2 separate regions of the Homo sapiens genome follow, and region 2 is linked to region 1. The links are contacts of gene promoters, found by promoter capture Hi-C in human tissues and cell types (Jung and others, 2019). All regions are on one chromosome and are shown on one strand. The core of a region is centred on a gene start or on the middle of the fragment in contact, and the rest is flanking DNA. Distances in the headings are between cores, read along the strand shown.

Region 1 (7,058 bases), core at 2,539-5,038:
ATAATCCCATTTATATAAAACTCTAGATAATGCAAACTAATCTAGGGTGACAGCAGATTAGTGGTTGCTCAGGAAAGGTGGGAGGGTACAACTGAGGTGGGAGAAAGAGATTACAAAGGGGCATGAGAAAACTTTGGGAGGTTATACATACATACATATATATATTTTTTCTTTTTCTTTTTTTTTTTTTTTTCCTGAAACGGAGTCTCGCTCTGTTGCCCAGGCTGGAGTGCAGTAGCGTGATCTCGACTCACCACAACCTCTGCCTCCCAGGTTCACGCGATTCTCCTGCCTCAGCCTCCTGAGTAGCTGGGACTACAGGTGCACGCCACCATGCCTGGCTAATTTTTGTATTTTCAGTAGAGTAGAGACCCGGTTTCACTCTGTTGGCCAGGCTGGTCTTGAATTCCTGACCTCGTGATCCGCCCACCTCGGCCTCCCCAAGTCCTGGGATTACAGGCATGAGCTACCGCACCCAGCTGATTATACATATATTATCCTGATTGTCACTGTCTATATTTGTTATCTTGATTGGATATTTTAAATATTTGTTATGATGGTTTCAGGAGATATACATATGTAAAAATTATTCAATTATGTACTTTAAATATGTGCAGTTTATTGTGTGCCAATTATACCTCAATAAAGCTGTCAGAATTATTTAACAATAAATATTTTTAGCTAAATAAGCACTTTTTATTTTTATATCAAGAGGACTGAACTGTTAGCTGTAAAGTAGAACAAAACTAACACTAAGTCAATACCCACTATATGCCAAGCATTATGTTAGCCAATTTACATGTGCTAATTTATAATATCATTACCATTAGTTGTAAAATGGGGGGGAGGGGGTAGGTAGAAAGGATAACAGCTTTAGAAATCAGACAAGGCTTTTTTTTCTGTTTTAAGAAAACCCTGACTTCTAGTTTTTACAAATCAATTATGCAACAGTATCAATAAACATACCAGATTTAAATCTAAATCTTCAGAGTCAAGTTCTATAAATTTAACTTGGATTGTCCTACAGTGGGAACACATGCCAGGAAAAAAGTTTACAGCGGATGTTTAAATTATGATTATGTTCTCATACATATAGATGCACTGAATCCTCCCATAAGTACCCTGAGTGAATGGCAGTTCTGTTTGGTCCCATATGAACTATGAACTATGGGACCAAACAAAAATCAAAAGCCTGTGTAACTGGCAATGCCCAATTACTCTGCAAACTAGTTTCCTCATTGTGTTTACCTTATTTAAAGCCCGCACCTACTTCCAGAAAGGATTTTCCATCTGCAAAATCAAATACCTGATTGGCAGACCTCTAAAAGACACTAGTTTTTGTCATTCTACTTTCTCTCATTCATTTTCTTAGAAATTACATTAACTGTATTTCAAACAAAATAACGACAACAATAAAAGACTTGTTTTTGTTTTGTTTTGTTTTCAAACCAAGCAAGCTAAGTCCTACAAAATGCCTTATATGTGTGACCTCTCTCTTAATTTACCTTTTAATTTTCCATGTCTGCCAGATGGAAAAAAACTCTATGCCAAAAAAGTATATATAAATAATTCCTTAACCAGTCTATAAATAAAGTATGGCCTTTAATTTAGGAAATCTCGATACTTTATTGGAACTCAACTTTATAGCTGTGTCATTACCTAACCTACAGCTTATCCCAAGTAGGTGTCAAGCTCCATTAAGTGTTCAATTTCAAACTGCCATTACCTGTGAATCCCTCGCCTGCATTCACACATTAACTTACTGTGTCCTATTCTCGGCTAAATCTTTATTTCAATGGCTTAACTCTCAAGAAGAATGAAAACAAAAAGATCACAATCTCCACTATATTTAGAAGCTTTACATTTTCTTGAAAACTGAGCTTTTTATAGCGCTAAACTGGATTAACTGCTTTCTTACTACTCCACTGGAATAAATACAATTTACTTGTGACAAAGATTAGCTGTCATAAATGTAGAAAGAGTAAAAAAACAAACTAGAGACACAAAATCTGGGTTCCAATTCTGACTCAGCCTCCTGGTAGCTGGCTGACTACTCGATGTTCCCAAACTTCAGCTTTTTTGTTGGTAAAAAATGGAGAATAATATCATCTACCTATAGAGTTATTGCAAGGATTATCATAATTTACGTGAAATCACTGTAAACAGTAAAGCATCATAGAAATGTTGGGTAATATTGGTGGTATCCTGGTGGTATGAGTAAACAATAGACTAGAGAAACATGTACCTCAAATAAGGGACTTACTTTTTTCACTAAATAAACATCACTTTCCAAAACAAATACGCATCAGGAGGACAGCTCGAGATAAACTCTGAACTAGGATTCAGGCATCTGGATGAATGCATCTTCTTCAGCCAGTTCCACCATTAACTCTAAGTATCAACACAGGCGAAATAATTTTCCTTTTCATCTCAAATGTCTTCATCTAAAAAATCCAACTACTGGACCAGATGTTCCATAAGTATTATTACAGCCTTTATCAGCCTACCAAATGACTAAGTATTCAAAAGAGTCGATTAACATTATATTCAAAACTTAGAGCACTGTTTGGTCTACCAGCAAAACAGAACTTAAGGGCAGACGATAAAAAAAATATTTTTAATTAAAAATAGAATTATATACAATTCTCGAGAAGCAAAGGATGAGTTAAACTACCTATAATAGTTCTCCCTCTAAATGACTAGTGATGAACAAGGTGCATTAACAAAAGGGCGGGGCTCCTTCCCACAGCTTTTTGGGAACCGCCCACTTCCCAAAGAGGTGTAACTGCTACCTCCTTGTCTTCATCTGCCAAGAAACTTGAAAGATTAAGGTTTATATTGTCTGAGAGAGGATTTTATTTTTCTTTTTACTTGGGTGGGGTTGGCAGTAGTCATCTGGCAAACATATCCTATAAACACCATTATCCACAACGCCAGGTCTCCCCACAAAGTCTTAAAGATCTAAGTTTTTAGAGTAATACCAATTTTAAAAAATAAGTTCAGACTATTAACTCAAAATTAGATTACTGTGTTAACAGTAATCAGTGCTGCCAACTGCCAAGTTTTCGCTTCTCCGAATTATTCACCCTCCCGCGTCTCCGCAGAGGCTACGATTTGCCCTCTCCTGCACCGCGCCAGGTCCCGAGAGAGAGTCCGCAGGGGCTCCCAGGAGAGGGAAGGCCGGGCAACCCAGGCCTCGGCGCTGCCACCCCTCGCTCCTCACCGATGACGATGCGCAGGTGCTTGAGGCGAGTCAGTGCGTCCTTCTTGGTGTCTAGCACCTTCTGGGTGGACTTCTTCACGTCCCCGTGCGGCTTCTTGGAGAACATCCTGTCGCTGCCACTGCCACTGCCACTGCCACAGCCGGCTCCCAGCCGGGTCCCGGCGGCAGAAAGTGGAGGGAGTGGACGGGGAGGAGACTAGCCAGAGAGGCTCATTAGCTCCCCAGCCTTGCGGGCCAGGGCAGAGCCGACTCCTTCCCGATCCAGGCCAGGGCCGCCACCTCCACCCGCCTCGCGCCGCGGCTCCAAGGCACCTTCGGCCCCAGCTCCAATATGGCGGATCCCTCTCCCGGCCCTGCACGGAGCGAGGCAGACCCGGGCTGGCCGCCTGCCGCCGCCGCTCGTCTCCAGCGGCCGCCGCTCGCCGCCACAGGCCGGGGCCCCGGACCCAGAGCCACGAAGGTGGAGCTCTCGGCGGCAGGAGCACAACTCTCTCCCTGAGGCCCCCTTAAGGTTGAAGCTTCTTTAGCAGCTTACACCCTGCAGAGGCCGAAACGGAGACGAGTGTGGTAGTGATGGGGTTTCACGACTCTGCCGTCGGTGGCGAACGGTGTCCGTGGCAACCGCCTTCTGACGTCAAGAGTTCTTGACGTCATGCCAGCATGAGATCACCCGTGGCACTCCCCGCCTTGGTTTCCTGTGTAAGCAGCCAAAGGAGAATCTCAAGAAAGGCAAGGAAGGTAGTTACTGCGTGCTCCATTGTAAGCCAAATGATAGTAATAAGCAAAGAGAAGTAATCTTTATTAAATATGTCCATGATTTATCTTTGAAAATGTGCATAAGTTGTTGTGGCCACCAGATCCTCTAGCAGAAAGATAAACGAAGTTACAGTTGGGCAATTTATTCTGTCCTAAATCTATTACTAATAATATTTCCTGCACTATGTATGTGATTTCTTTCATATTTTTTCTATTTGCAATATCCCTGTTTTTTGCTGCAAACAACTTGACAACAGAAAGGCTTAAGCAGAGGTATCTAGGTTTTTTAAATAAAAGTAATCTTGCTTTCCTTTTCTATTGTGCTTTTAAAAATCTTTTCCCCATCTGCACCCCACATAAAGATGAATATATTGTCAGTTTTTCCTCTGCAAAGAAGAATTCAAGGTTCTTATTACATTGATGGAGTCATCTGAAGAATCTGCAATAGCTGAAAAAAATCCGTGAAATTCTGAATGACATAAATTGAAATTTTTATTGGAACCCTTTTTTTTTTTTTCCTTTTTCCTTTTCTTTCCAGACAGGGTCTCTGTGTCCCAGGCAGAAGTGCAGTGGTGTGATCTCAGCTCACTGAAGCCTCGAACTCCCAGGCTCAGGTGATGCTCCCACCTCAGCCTACCGAGTAGCTGGGACCACAGGTGCGCGCCACCACATCCAGCTAATTTTTGTGTTTTTTGTAGAGACGGGGTTTCGCCATTTTGCCCAAACTGGTCTAAAACTCCTAGACTCAAGTGATCCGCCCGCCTCAGCCTACCAAACTGCTGGGATTACAGGCGTGAGGCCACTGCGCCTGGCCAGGAACATTTCCTCCACAAAATAATTTGATAAAGAGTGAGTTTGCTTGTTTGAACTGTTTCCTTCTATGTTCTCACCCATAGCAATAGACTTGTCCAATGAAATATGTGATTAACATAGAAAAATAACAAAATCAGCAAAGAAGAGAGATGTAAGACATTTGCCAAAATTATGTTAAAATATAGTGCTTTGCTTAATGGTAGTTTGTTTCAACAACAATCCTATATTTTTTAAAGTACAAAAAATTTATTCAGTTTCTACATGTAGGGTTTGTTTGTATCATCAAACTTACAAGCCATACATGTTTTGAGGAAGCTTATAACATAATAGAAAAATAAGGGGATTGTTCAAGAGATTTTAGTTCTAGTTCCTCTCAGCATCAGTTTTCTTATTAATAAAATCAAAATAAGGTCTGTCCCTCACAGTTTCGTGAAATTTAGGCAATAATACAATGTTTTCAAGCATGATCTTTAGAATTACATAGACCTAAATTAGACATTCTGTTTTTCACTTGCAAGGACTTACTTGCTCTCGGGCCCTTGGCATGTAGTTCAGTCTCAGCCTGATTTTCCTCATTTGTAAACTACATCAGTGATTGTGATAATTAGGTGAGAAAAGTATTGAAAGTTACATCTATAATGACACATCTCATAACATTCCTTTCCTTCATAGAATTTAAATACAGTAATTTGTGTAACTGTTTACAGATTCTCTCTTTCATGAGACTGTAAACTCCCTGAGGACAGAGACTGTATAGATTGTCTAAAGTTGTATCCCAGTCTTCTTGCAAAGTGCTCTTTGCAAGATAGGCTCAATAAATCTGTGTCGAATAGAAGAACGAATGTCACTGTCCCTTCCTTTCTCTTGCGCAAGTACTCAGTAAATGTTTGGCAAATGAGTGACATAATTTTAGAGAATAAAAATGTAACATATCGTTAAAAATAATTATATGGCTGGTATACCTGAGAAAAAATGAAAACACCATTGCAAAACAAACTAGTATAATGTAATTTACATATGGCACACCCATCCCACTGCCTGGTTTTTCTCTTCCCATTGATTTAAATATTAAAATTCTTTGAAAGATAAGTCTTCCCCACAGCAGACATAATTATCATGGAAATAAAACCCAGAAATATACCTTTGAAATATTGCTTGTGAGGGCCAGGCACGGTGGCTCATGCCTGTAATCCCAGCACTTTGGGAGGCCGAGGCAGGCGGATCACAAGGTTAGGAGAGTTCAAGACCAGCCTGACCAACATGGTGAAACCCCGTCTCTACTAAAAATACAAAAAAATTAGCCAGGCGTGGTGGGGCACGCCTGTAATCCCAGCCACTCAGGAGACTGAGGCAGGAGAATTGCTTAAACCCAGGAGGCGGAGGTTGCAGTAAGCCAAGATTGCACCACTGAACTCCAGCCTGGTTGACAGAGTGAGACTCTGTCTCAAAAAAAAAAAAAAAAAAAAAAAAAAAAAAAAATATATATATATATATATATATATATATATTGCTTGTGAGAACTAGATTTTTTTTCTTTTAGTGACTGGGTCTTGCTCTGTCATCCAGGCTGGAATGCAGTGGTGCAGTCACAGCTCACTTTAGCCTTAACTTCCTGGACTCAAGCAATCCTCTCACCTCAGCCTCCCATGCAGTTGGTAACACAGGCAGGTGCCAAAAAGCCCAGCTAATTAAAAAAAAATTTAGTAGATGGCCAGGCGTGGTGGCTCACTCCTGTAATCCCAGCACTTTGGGAGGCCGAGGCAGGTGGATTACCTGAGGCCAGGATTTCAAGACCAGCCTGACCAATATGGAGAAACCCCTTCTCTATTAAAAATACAAAATTAGCCAGGAGTGGTGGCGCGTGCCCATAACCCCAGCTACTCGGGAGTCTGAGGCAGGAGAATCACTTGAACCTGGGAGGCGGAGGTTGCGGTGAACTGAGATCGTGCCATTGCACTCCAGCCTGGGCAACAAGAGCGAAACTCCATCTCACAAAAAAAAAAAAAAAAAAAAAAAAAAAAAATTTAGTAGAGACAAGGTCTCACTATTTTGCCCAGGCTGGTCTTTAACTCCTGGCCTCAAGGGATCCCCCTACCTCAGCCTCCCAAAGTGTTGGGGTTACAGATTACAGGCATGAACCACCACACCTGGCCTACACACAAATGTTTATAGCAATTTTATTCCTAACTCCAAAAACTAGAAGCAACCAAGATATCTTTCAGTAGTTAAATGAATAAACATACTGTGGTACATCCATACAATGGAA
Region 2 (7,043 bases), core at 2,286-4,785, 1.4 Mb after region 1:
AACCAATTCGATCAAGCAGAAGAAAGGATATCAGTGATTGAAGATCAAATGAATGAAATGAAGCTAGATGAGAAGTTTAGAGAAAAAAGAGTGAAAAGAAATGAACAAAGCCTCCAAGAAATATGGGACTATGTGAAAAGACCAAATCTACGTTTGATTGGTGTACCTGAAAATGACGAGAAGAGTGGAACCAAGTTAGAAGACACTCTTCAGGATATTATCCAGGAGAACTTCCCCAACCTAGCAAGGCAGGCCAACATTCAAATTCAGGAAATACAGAGAATGCCACAAAGATACTCCTCGAGAAGAGCAATCCCAAGACACATAATCATCAGATTCACCAAGGTTGAAATGAAGGAAAAAAAGTTAAGGGCAGCCAGAGAAAAAGGTCAGGTTACCCACAAAGGGAAGCCCATCAGACTAACAGCAGATCTCTCGGCAGAAACCCTACAAGCCAAAAGAGAGTGGGGACCAATACAATATTCAACATTCTTAAAGAAAAGAATTTTCAACCCAGAGTTTCATATCCAGCCAAACTAAGCTTCATAAGTGAAGGAGAAATAAAATCCTTTACAGACAAGCAAATGCTGAGAGATTTTGTTACCACCAAGCCTGCCTTACAAGAGCTCCTGAAGGAAGCACTAAACATGGAAAGGAACAATCGGTACCAGCCACAGCAAAAACATGCCAAGCTGTAAAGACCATCGATGCTAAGAAGAAACTGCATCAATTAATGGGTGAAATAACCAGCTAACATCATAACAACAGGATCAAATTCACACATAACAATATTAACCTTAAATATAAATGGGCTAAATACCCCAATTAAAAGACACAGACTGGCAAATTGGATAAACAGTCAAGACCCATTGGTGTGCTGTATTCAGGAGACCCATCTCATGTCCAAAGACACATATAGGCTCAAAATAAAGGGATGGAGGAAGACCTACCAAGTAAATGGAAAGAAAAAAAAAAAAAGCAGGGGTTGCAGTCCTGGTCTCTGATAAAACAGACTTTAAACCAAAAAAGATCAAAAGGGACAAGGCCATTACATAACGGTAAAGTGATCAATTCAACAACAAGAGCTAACTATCCTAAATATATATACACCCAAAACAGGAGCACCCAAATTCATAAAGCAAGTTCTTAGAGATCTAAAAAGAGACTTAGACTCCCACACAATAATAATGGGAGACTTTAACAACCCACCGTCAATGTTAGACAGATCAAGGAGACAGAAAATTAACAAGGATATCCAGGACTTGAACTCAGCTCTGGGCCAAGCAGACCTAGTAGACATCTACAGAACTCTCCATCCCAAATCAACACAATATACATTCTTCTCAGCACCACATCACACTTATTCTAAAATTGACAACATAAGTGGAACTAAAACACTCCTCAGCAAATGTAAAAGAACAGCAATCACAACAAACTGTCTCTCAGACCACAGTGCAATCAAATTAGAACTCAGGATTAAGAAACTCACTCAAAACCGCACAACTACATGAAAACTGAACAACCTGCTCCTGAATGACTACTGGGTAAATAACGAAATAAAGGTAGAAATAAAGATGTTCTTTGAAACCAATGAGAACAAAGACACAACATACCAGAATCCCTGGGACACATTTAAAGCAGTGAGTAGATGGAAATGTATAGCACTAAATGCCCACAAGAAAGCAGGAAAGATCTAAAGTTTATACCCCGGCATCACAATTAAAAGAACTAGAGAAGCAAGAGAAAACAAATTCAAAAGCTACCAGAAGACAAGAAATAACTAAGATCAGAGCAGAACTGAAGGAGATAGAGACACACACAAACACAAAAAAACCCTTCAAAAAAATCGATGAATTCAAGAGCTGGTTTTTTTGAAAAGATCAACAAAATTGATAGACTGCTAGCAAGATTAATAAAGAAAAAAAGAGAGAAGAATCAAATAGACACAATAAAAAAATCATAAAGGTGATATCAGCACCGATTCCACAGAAATACAAACTACCATCAGAAAATACTCTAAACACCTCTATGCTAATAAACTAGAAAATCTAGAAGAAATGGGTAAATTCCTGGACACATACACCCTCCCAAGACTAAACCAGGAAGAAGTTGAATCTCTGAATAGACCAATAACAGGCTCTGAAATTGAGGCAATAATTAATAGCCTACCAACCAAAAAAAGTCCAGGACCAGATGGAATCACAGCTGAATTCTACCAGTGGTACAAAGAGGAGCTGGTACCATTCCTTCTGAAACTATTCCAATCAATAGAAAAAGAGGGAATCCTCCCTAACTCATTTTATGAGGCCAGAATCATCCTGATACCAAAAGCCTGGCAGAGACACAACAAAAAAAGAGAATTTTAGGCCAATATCCATGATGAACATCTATGTGAAAATCCTCAATAAAATATTGGCAAACTGAATCCAGCAGCACATCAAAAAGCTTATCCACCACGATCAAGTGGGCTTCATCCCTGGGATGGAAGGCTGGTTCAACATATGCAAATCAATAAATGTAATCCATCACATAAACAGAACCAAAGACAAAAACCACATGATTATCTCAATAGATGCAGAAAAGGCCTCTGACAAAATTCAACCAGCCCTTCATGGTAAAAACCCTCAATAAACTAGGTATTGATGGAACGTATCTCAAAATAATAAGAGCTATTTATGACAGACCCACAGCCAATATCATACTGAACGGGCAAAAACTGGAAGCATTCCCTTTGAAAACAGGCACAAGACAGGGATGCCCTCTCTCACCACTCCTATTCAACATAGTGTTGGAAGTTCTGGCCAGGGAAATCAGGCAAGAGAAAGAAATAAAGGATATTGAATTAGGAAAAGAGGAAGTCAAATTGTCTCTGTTTGCAGATGACATGATTATATATTTAGAAAACCCCATCATCTCAGCCCAAAATCTCCTTAAGCTGATAAGCAACTTCAGGAAAGTCTCAGGATACAAAATCAATGTTCAAAAATCACAAGCATTCCTACACACCAAGAACAGACAAACAGAGAGCCAAATCATGAGTGAACGCTCATTCAGGATTACTACAAAGAGAATAAAATACCAAGGAATCCAACTTACAAGGGATGTCAAGGACTCCTTCAAGGAGAACTACAAACCACTGCTCAACGAAATAAAAGAGGACACAAACAATGGAAGAACATTCCGTGTTCATGAATAGGAAGAATCAATATTGTGAAAATGGCCATACTGCCCAACGTAGTTGATAGATTCAATGCTATCCCCATCAAGCGACCACTGACTTTCTTTACAGAATTGGAAAAATCTACTTTAAATTTTATATGTAACCAAAAAAGAGCCCGCATAGCCAAGGCAATCCTAAGCAAAAAGAACAAAGCTGGAGGCATCATGCTACCTGACTTCAAACTATACTACGAGGCTACTGTAATGAAAATAGCATGGTACTGGTACCAAAACAGATATAGAGACCAGTGGAACAGAATAGAGGCCTCAGAAATAATACCACACATCTACAGCCATCTAGTCTTTGACAAACCTGACGAAAATCAGCAATGGGAAAAGGATTCCCTATTTAATAAATGGTGCTGGGAAAACTGGCTAGCCATATGTAGAATGCTGAAACTGGATCCCTTCCTTACACCTTATACAAAAATTAACTCAAGATGGATTAAAGACTTAAATGTAAGACCTAAAAGCATAAAAACCCTAGAAGAAAACCTAGGCATTACCATTCAGGACATAGGCATGGACAAATACTTCATGACTAAAACACCAAAAGCAATGGCAATGAAAGCCAAAATAGACATATGGGATCTAATTAAACTAAACAGCTTCTGCACAGCAAAAGAAACTATCATCAGAGTGAATAGGCAACCTACAGAATAGGAAAAATTTTTTTCAATCTATCCATCTGACAAATGGCTAATATCCAGAATCTACAAAGAACTTAAACACATTTACAAGAAAAAAACTAACAACCCCCTCAAAAAGTTGGCAAAGGATATGAAGAGACACTTCTCAAAATAAGACATTTATGCAGCCAACAGACATATGAAAAAATGCTCATCATCACTGGTCATCAGAGAAATGCAAATCAAAACCACAATGAGATACCATCCCACACCAGTTAGAATGGTGATCATTAAAAAGTCAGGAAACAACAGATGCTGGAGAGGATGTGGAGAAATAGGAATGCTTTCACACTGTTGGTGGGAGTGTAAATTAGCTCAACCATTGTGGAAGACAGTGTGGGCGATTCCTCAAGGACCTAGAACTAGAAATACCATTTGACCCAGCAATCTCATTACTGGGTATATACCCAAAGGATTATAAATCATGCTACTATAAAGACACATGCACAAGTATGTTTATTGCGGTACTATTCACAATAGCAAAGACTTGGAACCAACCCAAATGTCCATCAATGATAGACCAGATTAAGAAACTGTGGCACATGTACACCATGGAAAACTATGCAGTCATAAAAAATGATGAGTTCATGTCCTTTGTAGGGACATGGATGAAGCTGGAAACCATCGTTCTCAGCAAAATATCACAAGGACAGAAAACCAAACACCACATGTTTTCACTCATAAGTGGGAATTGAACAATGAGAATACATGGACGCAGGGAGGGGAATATCACACACCCGGGCCTGTTGGGTGGGGGGGGGCTGGGGGAGGGATAGCATTAGGAGAAATACCTAATATTAATGACAAGTTGATGGGTGCAGCAAACCAACATGGCACATGTATACCGATGTAACCAATCTGTACGTTGTGCACATGTACCCTAGAACTTAAAGTGTATGAAAAAAGCCTATTAAAAAATGAATCATGATCCTTTAGACAGGTAGTAGCTAAAGGATCCTCATATCCTTTAAAAGGATTACTGTAGTCAAGCAAAGTGCTATGAGACTGACTTGAAAATTTAAAAAATAGCTTTATCCATCATATCTATGTTCATTAATCTCATGTCTAGCCCAGTCTAGAATGCTTCCTTGCATATGACTGCTGGAAAGCTACTCTAAGATGCTTCCCTAGCAATTCAAACTCATTCTATCAAAACTGAACTTACTTATTCACCAATTTCTTTAATACCATCAACACTTTCCTCTTTCTCAACTAGTTATTTACCAGATTTTGCAAACTATTTCCTACTTCTTCAAGCTACCCTTTTCCATCTATCGTGCTTTACCACATACATTTTATTATTTATTTATTTATTTATTTATTTTTTGAGACAGGGTCTAACTCTGTCACCCAGGCTAGAGTGCAGTGGTACAATCTCAGCTCACTGCAACCTCCACCTCCTGGTTCAAGTGATTCTCATGCTTCAGCTTCCTGAGTAGCTGGGATTACAGACATGTGCCACCATGCCTGGCTATTTTTTGTATTTTTAGTAGAGACGGTGGGGGGAGGTCCCACCATGTTGGATAGGGTGGTCTCCAACTCCTAGCCTCAAGTGATCCACCCACCTCAGCCTCCCAAAGTGCTGGGGTTACAGGCATGAGCCACAGAGCCCAGCCTTTTTATCGTTTTTCAATTAGATTAACTAGTCTTGCAAACTTGAGAATTTTGATTCTGAAACGTATTTCTAAATTGATGAATGAAAGTGTAAATCTAATCTCATCACTCCTGTTTTAACTTTCAAAATTCATTGACTATAGAATCAAGTCCAAGGTACTTAATTAGGAGATCATTTATATTGCCTGGCATGGTGACTCATGCATGTAATCCGAGCACTTTGGGAGGCCAAAGTGGGAGGACTGCTTGAGGCCAGGACTTTGATACCAGCCCCAGCAACATAGTGAGTCCCCAACTCTATTTTTAAAAAAGACCTTTCATAATCTCTCCAACTTCATTTCCCACCACTTTCCATGTTAAATTTTATACTGTGATATTAAATTGCTTATAGCTCCTTACAGTATCTCACTCCCATATTGATTCCTTTATAAGGAATTCTGTTTTCTCTGCACCTCCACCCTCACCTCTTCACCTTGCTAAGTCTTATTCATACTACAGGAGGCATTATCTCCTTCAGATTTTCCTGACTCTGTCTTCCTCATCCCCTGAACTCCCCTCTCCCAAAGCCATTTCTCAGTTTACACAGTGTGATGGTTAATTTTGTCAACTTGGCTGGGCCATGGTGCACAGATATTTGGTGAAACGTTATCCTGGATGCTTCTGTGAAGGTGTTTTTTTGATGAGATTACCATTTAAATCACCAGACTTTGAATACAACAGATTACATTCCATGTATGTCCAACTACAATTCTTTTCTGAGGCTTGCCCGCCTCTTCCCTCAGATTTTGGACTCACTAAAAGTCCACAACTGCATGAGCCATTTCCTTACAATAAATCACTGTCCCTCTCTCTATGTAGTCTCTGTGTATACACACATATCCTGTTTGTTCTGTTTCTCTGGAGAACCCTGATTAATACATATGGTATTCTCAGCTACTTGTGTGCCTAATTGTTATTCATTATTTTATTTGCAGAACTGATCAGTGTGTGACACACTGCAGAAGCCTAATATTTATAGACTTGAGAATATTAATGATCTGACATTAACAGACTTGATAATATTAATAATATGACATTCTTTTTCTCCCTGTAACGAAAGAGTGGTTCATTTTCTTCTTCTCATCTTCATCCATATTTCTGTAAAAGTCCAGCTTGTATGAGGTATGAGGACATAGACAATATCTTTGATAATCATTTTGAGAAAAGAAAAAAGCTCTAATTTATCTCTTTCATTTCTTATAGACAGGCAACTGTTAGAACAATAGAAAATGAAGAAATGGATATGTTGGTTATGGTGGTGGTGGAGGGGAGTAGGGGAAAACTTACCTGTTGTGGTATCAAAAGTTTAGGGAAAGAACATTAATGAGTTACTTCAGGTATGTTAGGGAAAAAGGAAAAAGAATAGGGAGAATTAGTCCTAATGTTTGAACTCACTGCATAAAACAGAGAGAGAGAGAGAGAAAATCAGCTTACTAAAAGGAAAGAAAATATGAGGTTTCTCTTTATGCCAGAGACTGTAAG

Evidence for each region. Contacts are between HindIII fragments. The study calls those that stand out against the background at their distance.
Region 2: a contact is called between a fragment that was not itself captured here and the fragment with the promoter of RALGAPA1 in region 1, in 1 of the 25 tissues and cell types used here (dorsolateral prefrontal cortex).

What each region holds. Positions count from the first base shown.
Region 1 is chr14:35,805,507-35,812,564 of GRCh38, forward strand. It overlaps RALGAPA1 (Ral GTPase activating protein catalytic subunit alpha 1), which reads right to left and starts at 3,789. Exons shown (of 42, transcript NM_001346249.2): 1 at 3,224-3,789. The coding sequence starts at 3,329. RefSeq lists enhancers at 3,439-3,999, 3,836-3,935 and a silencer at 3,516-3,755. The HindIII fragment of the contact is 4,642 bases long and covers 2,799-7,058 here.
Region 2 is chr14:37,189,149-37,196,191 of GRCh38, forward strand. No RefSeq gene overlaps it. Among named protein-coding and RNA genes, the nearest start is that of MIPOL1, 5.3 kb to the right of the region's middle. The HindIII fragment of the contact is 8,563 bases long and covers 1-7,043 here.